2 separate regions of the Homo sapiens genome follow, and region 1 is linked to region 2. The links are contacts of gene promoters, found by promoter capture Hi-C in blood cells and fetal thymus (Javierre and others, 2016). All regions are on one chromosome and are shown on one strand. Each heading gives the region's core, a stretch centred on a gene start or on the middle of the fragment in contact. The rest is flanking DNA. Distances are from core to core; before and after follow the strand shown. Region 1 overlaps PRIM2 (DNA primase subunit 2). Region 2 holds the start of DST (dystonin).

Region 1 (4,081 bases), core at 1,176-3,675, 560 kb after region 2:
TTAATTCTGAGGACATGTAAGGAAAAAGGACTGCATCTGTGAGCTTCATGGTTGAAGAAAGTGTTTTATTTTTTCCTTAAGATTGGTAAGATGAGCATATTTACAGGTTAAGGCAGAAATGAGTAGTATGGGAGTAAGAGGGAATAATTGAAGGGGCAATGTTTTAGGAGGGGTAGAAGGGGATAGGCCAGGAAATCAAACTGACTGGAGTTTAAAAAGTACTTTCCAATCTAGCTTTTTGGTGCATACTCAGAACAATCCAGTGTGGATGGTAGATGGTTATTTATCATAATCCCTATTTTACAGGTTGGTGATGGAGCCTCATGATGTTCTCATTAAGAAAACCTAATTTTTCTTTTTCTTTTCTTTTTTTTTGAGACAAAGTCTCACTCTGTCTGTCGCCCAGGCTGGAGTGCAATGGCATGATCTCAGCTTACTGCAACCTCCTCCTACTGGGTTCAAGCGATTCTTCTGCCTCAGCTTCCTAAGTAGCTGGGACTACAGGCATGTGCCACCACACCCAATAAATTTTTTATTTTTAGTAGGGATGGGGTTTCATCATGTTGGCCAGACTGGTCTCTAACTCCAGACCTCAGGTGTTCTGCCTGCCTCGGCCTCCCAAAGTGTTGGGATTACAGGTGTGAGCCACCGTGCTCACCATGCACCAGCCAAGAAAACCTGATTTTTCTAATGAAAAATACTGCCTTTCCCTCTCCTCAAAAGAGATGAATTAATTATTTCATAAGACTATACCATTTTTCAAAATTGATACCAGGAACTTTTCTATTGGAAGAAATAAACTTACTTAGACTTACAATAATATAAAGTTTAGAGAGAATTTGTATAAATCATTATTTCTGCTTTCACCAAATTGCATATGATTAGATATGTAATCTAAGGAGCCTGCATCTCATTGTGGCTTTACTGTCATTATCATGGTTATATATCACTGCATTTTCTAGGGTGAATTATATCGTTCACTGATTTGGTAGTTTGGAGATACATAAAGGTCTTGGAATATGTTCCCATGAATGTAGAAGTTTATTGTAAATAAGTATCTTTGCTATCCTAATGATGGTACCATGGGATAATATTTATAAAAATGGCATTAGGCTAGCAAGTGTGCATGATAAAGGTGTTTATTTTTATTTATTATCTCACTTATAAATATGAAGTATAAATAGGTACAACTAGAGAGGAAAACTTGCAGCCCATATTATACATGTGATAACTTTTAGTTGTATGATTGAGAATTTTTCCCCCTTAAAAATAACGCCTACAGTGTATGTATCTTCCTCCTTTATCCCTTGACTTCAAGATATGAAGTGCATTGGGGGACAGCATATTATAAGTCACTGTAATAGTTGCTATTATTGGCTGGACGCGGTGGCTTACGCCTGTAAACCCAGCACTTTGGGAGGCTGAGGCAGGCAGATCACTTGAGGCCAGGAGTTCAAGACCAGCCTGTCTCTACTAAAAATACAAAAATTAGCCCACTGTGGTGGCGCGCACCTGTAATCCCAGCTGCTCAGGAGGCTGAGGCAGGAGAATCACTTGAACCTAGGAGGCAGAGGTTGTAGTGAGCCAGGATCATGCCACTGCACTCCAGGCTGGGCAACAATTGCTATTATTTAATGTTTTGTCATTAAAGAATAACTCATTTTTAAAATGCGTATTTGTCACACCACAATTTTGCGAGCATATTTCAGCCCAAGAATGAATTAGAAATCAAACAAAGATAAAGCAAGCTAAAACAAGTATTACTTATAGTAAGTACTTGGACTGCATCATATGGATTAACTTTTAGTGCATACTGATTTTGCAAGCAGATGTTTATACAAACCGTTATTTTAAAATCGTTTAAAGTAATAAAGGCATCTTCCTTCAGTTGGTATTATTACTAGTTTTGTAAAATTCCTTTTCCGAAGGCAGTACATTTTGTTAATATGCACACATTTCTACTTATTTTTCTAAAGAATATGCTTTCACAAATTTTTTATCAGACATGTAATCTCTGTAAGAAAGCTTTTCTTACTATCCAAAGTGGTACAGCTATCATTGTTTTCTTTTTGAATTAGTTCTGATTTTGAAATCAGAAAATTGTGTGGGCATTCATGTGTCTATTGTGGTAAATATGAAAATAAACGCCAGAAAATGGTTTAGTAGATAGGGGCTTCATCAGTTGAGGGCTGAAATGAAAGCCTCATTAGCCTGGTCCACATGCTTCAGTTGTTTGTTAGCTCTTTCTCATCACCTGTTTCCAGTCTCTGGCAGTACCTTGAACATTTATTTCCTTTTCTACATGCAGCAGCACAAGCTTTTATAGTTCACTGATTATAGTGAAGGTTTTCCAGGTGCTGTGTAAGATATTAATAAATTAGAATATATTGTTTTCCATTGTCACCTTTGAATTACAATTTTTTCACATCTGTATGGAAAATGTTAATGCCTTCTTAGAGGTATACTTGTGAATAGTCAGCATTTTGTTAGAATCAGCCCGTTGTGTTAAGGGCACTATAATTGGTACTGATTATGTACAAAAGAACTAATAGATGTGGTCCCTTAACTCAAGAAGCTTATATTTTTAAGGGGAAAGAGGACCAAAATTTATAAACAGTACCCCCCTCCCCACCCACACACATACCCAAAGCTGCACCGGAATAGTTGCTGCAAGTTAAGTAGATAGTAAAGAGAGTGATAGGAAGTTTTATGAGAAGCAGTATCTGCATGTGGATTATGTTACAAATTTAATGTCATTTAATGTTTTTGGTAAAATGTATAGTCACAATATATAAAATCATCTCCCTCCCTAATGCAACCAACACTAAGCTTCTTTTGTGAACTTGATGCATACTTTAATTATAAAGTGGTCAACTTTTAAAATTTTCACTTAATATAACTAGGTAATAAAGTAGAAAATTGATTTTCATGACTCCAATTTTAAGTATCTGCATAATAGTCAATCAAGAATAGATATATCTACTTAGCCATTGCCATTTTATCAGATATGTATAGCTTTTGGGATTGAATAAACCTGTGGCAAAAAATTATAGAATGTGAACAGTTTCTGTGTGTTCAGGCAAAGTAACTGAGAAGAAATACTGTAGTAACTTTATGTAGAAGGAATTGCAACATAGATGTTTTCCAGCAGATCAGATGGAGATAAGAACAAAGAACAGCAGCAGCCTAGGTAGTGTATAGCTTTGAAAATACAGGGAAGTTCATTAGTCTAAAAATGCCATCTTGCCCAAGTGAGAAAGTGGCAGATTTCTTAACAAGTGAACGAGTGACTTGAAAAAGGTGGAATTGAGGAAGCCAAATGTTAAAGCTTATTAGCGTGTGTAGATTAGAGCCTTTATACCCATTTTTTCAAACACTCCTTTAGAATATTTAAAAATCACTCGTGTCATATGTCTGTGTGCGTAAGTACATTGTATATACATTCCCTGATATTTAGCGATGACACTAGCATTTTTATATAAAGAAAATAAAAAGTGACCAGTGTATTAGTTTTCTATTCCAATCTTAACAAATGCCACACATTTAGTGGATTAAAACAATCCCCATTTATTATCTCACAGTCTGTAGGTTAGAAATCGGACATGGGTCTTGCCAGGCTAAAATCAAGGTGTCAGCAAGGCTTTTATATTCCTTACCGGAGGCTCTGGGGAAGAATTTACTTCCAAGGTTATTTAAGTTGTTGGAGATCCTGTTTTTATGCTGGCTGTCAGTTGAAGCCTGGTCTTTCCTCCTAGAGGCTGCCCACATTCCTTCTCATGCTTTCCATGATTTCCTAGAGGCCTCTGAAGTCCTTGCCTGTGGGTCCCATCTCAGAGCCTTCCCATGCTTCAGATCTCTCTAACTTATGCTGCTGTGTCACACTGCCTCCAACCTGAGAAAGTTTTCTGCTTTTAAAGGCCCGTGCGATTAGATCAGACTACAGGGATATCCAGGATAATCTTTTCATCTAAGATCCTTAACCTTAATTACATCTGCAGAGCCCCTTTTACCGTGTAACCTAACACATTCAGAGGATCCAGGAATTAGAGCATATGTGGAGGGTCACTGATTTGGCCTCTTA
Region 2 (3,745 bases), core at 194-2,693:
ATGCATATGGATCAAATTGTTCTGCACTAACCTCTTCGTTTATCCAAGTGAACAACCAGAGTCAACTGACAGCACCCAGAAAACACTTCCACCAGCAAAATATAAACTGTAAACTCAAGTGACATCCACCCTGTGGCTAAGTTTTTTAAGGTCTGCAGCACTTTTAGGGTTTGCCTTTTCCCCTCTTGTACAACAGCTCCACTACACAAGAAATTTGCTAAAACCGTTCGCTGGGCACTAATATGAAATCACTTAAAAGGAAACATGCCACTTTCGGCTAGGGGACAGCATGTTCGTCATTCAGTGTCCTACTGGTTTCTTAACACGCATATAATTAATATTGGTACTCAGGAAAGAGAACTTCTTCTGACCTTGAGCGTGCGCGCTAAATAAATTACCTCAGAACGAAAGTGGTGCGATCTCAAAACAGCATCTGGGGAGAAAAGAGATAAATGAGACTTCATTTAACTCCTTGTTCTTCACCTACCGAGTGACTCATGACTTACCTGGGAGACCAGGGTTGGGAAAGCACATCGCAGACTCCTGGAATTCGGTGGGACATCCTGGGGGAGGGAGGAGGAGTCCTGGGGCCATCGGTCTCTACGTGATTTCTCCGCGAGAAGTTTGCATGAAAGTTCTGGGGGAGTTGGGGAGCCCCGAAGTTTCCATGCCTTACTTTCTTACCCCTACGCTCCAGCGAAGGATGCGTGAAGGCGAGGCTGGCGCAGCCCCGGACTACGCTCAAATTACCCTTAAGGCTTTAGCAAACTGACTAAAAATTTGAGTTCTTTCCTCCCCTCCCTGCCCTCGGCATCGCCGTGGTTATTCAAACCTGGGAGACTGGAGGGCGGAGGTGACGGCAAAAAGGGCAAGGGGCGTTAAAGAAACGCACTCAGCCTGGGGAGTGGGCAATGATGGGGCTAGGGGCAGCCGAGGAGAAGGGAGCGAGCCGCGCTTCACTCTCCAAATCGGCTTAATTGTTCCTGGTAGCCCGCAGAAACCCGTCGCGGCGTGTCTTACCTCGGCTTCTTGAACGACCCGAGAAGACCGATTTCATCGGATGCCTCCCTTTCTGGAGCTTGCGGTGCCAGCAGCAGAAGAAGACGATGGTGGCGATGGTGCCCAGCAGAAGCAACAAGAGGAAGAGGGCACATTGGATGCTGTAGGGTCTCAGCAAGACGAGGAAAGCCGCGGCGATCATGGTGCGGGCGAGGCGAGGGCGACTCGACGGCGGGGCTGGAGGGCGGCGGCACAGGCACCCGCGCTGGGCGCACGCCGGGACGGCGGGCACGGGTGAGCGCGGCTCAGCGCGTCATGCCTGGCGCTCGCGGCCCCGCGCCCAGCCCAATGGCTGCGCACCCCGCGCCAGCCGCGCTACGCGAGTGATCCAGGGCTGCGGGGAGCGCTTGCCATGACTCAGCAGACAGCGACGAGGCTGCGACTCGGCGGCTGGGATCCTCTCCCCTCCCTCCCCAGGCGCCCCCGCCCCCGTCCGTGCGCAGCCCCCGGGCGCAGCCCCGCCGGGGACGCGGCGAGTGGGGAGGAGCAGCGCCGCCGCCGCGGCCGCCCGGGCCCCGCGCATCGTCCTGCGGCCGCCGCCGACCTCAGCATCCCAGAAGCCGGGCGCACGTGGGTCGGGGCGGGGACGCGGCGCTCAGGCTGCAGCCGCGGCAGCCTGCGGGGGGCGGGAATGGGGCGCCGCGGCGGGGGCTCGGCTGATGACATCACGGCCAGGCTGCGGCAGCGCGGGCGCGCGGACATGGCTGCGGCGGTTTCGGCGGCGTCCGCGGGCTGCACCCGGGCCTGAGAGCCCAGCGCCCTCCCGCGGGGCCGCCCGCCAGTCCGCGCCGTCCGCGGGTGCATTGGCCGGGTGCCTCTAGCTTCCCGGACACCCGGAGCTTCCGCCTATCCAGCCTCCCTCGGCCAAATTGCTGCGGAGCCCGTCGTCAGGGGGCGCCAAGGAGCCAGGGGGAAAACCGAGAGGCGCTGACAGGAGCCTCCCGGCGGTGCTACCCTCCACCTCCCACCTCCCTGCGCCCCGCCCCGAGGTTGGGGCTTTGAAGAATGCAGCCGGGTGAGCTATTGCTTGTGGGGGTTTCCTCGCACTCTGAAGCGCGAGCGCCGGGAAGGGCCTTCCCTGGGAATTGGGATACTCCAGGAACGGGAGGCCCACTCCTCTCCAAGCCTCTCTAAACTAGGAGCGCTCCGGGGTAGTACGCTCTGGTCGGCAGAGGTGAACTCTTCCACCCCAAACTTGGTGCTTATCTCGCAGCTAAGAATTGGGCACTTTCGATCTTCTTGTATCCCTGGGTTTGCCCTAAAACCCTGACTCATTTAGTGCATTTGAAGGGCAAGGCGATTTCAGATTTAGGGACCTGGCAGATGAAGTAAGTTGGTACTTGGCTTATAAACATTTGGGGGAGAAATTTTTTAGGGAGTGTGAGGCAATAGTGATCTCTCACACTTGCAGGCACACTCTGTCTCCCCTTTGTCCCCTCCCCACGTTTCTTCATAACCAGCAAAAAGTATATGGCAGTTGGTGGCCAGGGGATTTAACACTGATGCAATGCCAGCACGGAAGGTATAGCGAGAGCGCTGCAGTGTGCCTTTCTGCGGACGGCCACGGCCACCTGGCCAGGAAGCGGCTGCTGCAGCAGTCATTCTGCGGCATCTTGCGGCCTTGGCGGGCGGTGCTGTGCCGCGTTCTGCTGCCCCCAAGGCAATGCTGGCTTTCCCTGTGTGGGGCTGGATTGTTTGTTTCATTTACTCGCATAAGAAAACTTTAATTATAGTGACAAGGTAACACTTGACTGCATTTGCGGAGTTTCTTATAACAACTGTATTAGCCTCTTTTTTGGAATATTTAATAGACTGAAGAAATTGTGTCATAAAAATTTATAAAAATTTGAAAAGCAGGTAAATAATTGGGAGGAATAAAAGTTTTATTTGCTTGTAGTGATCTCAAAATCAGTGTTGTTTTCCAACTATACAAAACCGTACAGCTCTGCATGAAAGCTTAATCATTGATGTCCTTAAAGCCAGTAACATATTACCGTGTGTAAGTATTAAACCTAAAAAGGCATTGGTTAATGCAGTCTCTTAGTGCCAGATTCATAAGCATGGAAAACAACAGATACGTTTTGTTTACAGCTGGTTTCCTTAAACAAAATAAACATTCGAATTGTTGACATGTTGCATCTCATTCATTCAGTTGTTTTGGATTGAACTCAGAAGGGCCCTTGCTTGGAGACACTGCATAAGGTGGGAATTTTGAATGGCAGCATGTAGGCTGCACTGAATTCCAGGATAGGCTTCATGGGTCTCTAGCACTCAGAGTGGGTGACAGGTAGCACTACATCATGTGCATATGGCTAAAGGTTTCTTGATACCGCAGCCCACTGCAGTGAGAAACTATTCAACAATTATGCAGAGGTTATTGAAGAAAATCCTGAGAGTTTGCAATGTGTGGCACATCAGGAAAGGAAGAATTCTCCACCGCATTGACTCAACAATGGCATGGTGGAGTAATTTTAAACAACAAAACTGAACTAACCGTGTGCAGACATTGGGGGAAATAACTAACAGAATTTTGGAAGGTCATCTTTATGCTTCTCATTGACTGAAATTTGTAAGTGAGCTGAAATAGCCTACGTATCCTTGAACAGAAACATGTCAAAGACACACAGAATAGTATTCAAATTGCCCCAAACGCTATATTTTTTTAACAACAAAAAGCAACTAAATA

The links. Contacts are between HindIII fragments. The CHiCAGO score rates a contact against its expected background, and 5 or more counts as called.
Region 1: a fragment that was not itself captured here is called in contact with the fragment with the promoter of DST in region 2 in 6 of 17 cell types (erythroblasts, total CD4 T cells, total CD8 T cells and 3 more); the score reaches 8.1 in erythroblasts.

What each region holds. Positions count from the first base shown.
Region 1 is chr6:57,512,237-57,516,317 of GRCh38, forward strand. The region is part of intron 8 of PRIM2 (DNA primase subunit 2); the gene reads left to right. Among named protein-coding and RNA genes, the nearest start is that of MIR548U, 120 kb to the left of the region's middle. The HindIII fragment of the contact is 804 bases long and covers 2,024-2,827 here.
Region 2 is chr6:56,953,387-56,957,131 of GRCh38, forward strand. DST (dystonin) reads right to left here and starts at 1,444. Exons shown (of 104, transcript NM_001374736.1): 1 at 1,021-1,444; 2 at 399-433. The coding sequence starts at 1,201. BEND6 (BEN domain containing 6) reads left to right here and starts at 1,721. Exons shown (of 7, transcript NM_152731.3): 1 at 1,721-2,074. RefSeq lists an enhancer at 427-1,058 and a silencer at 1,220-1,909. The HindIII fragment of the contact is 5,182 bases long and covers 1-3,013 here.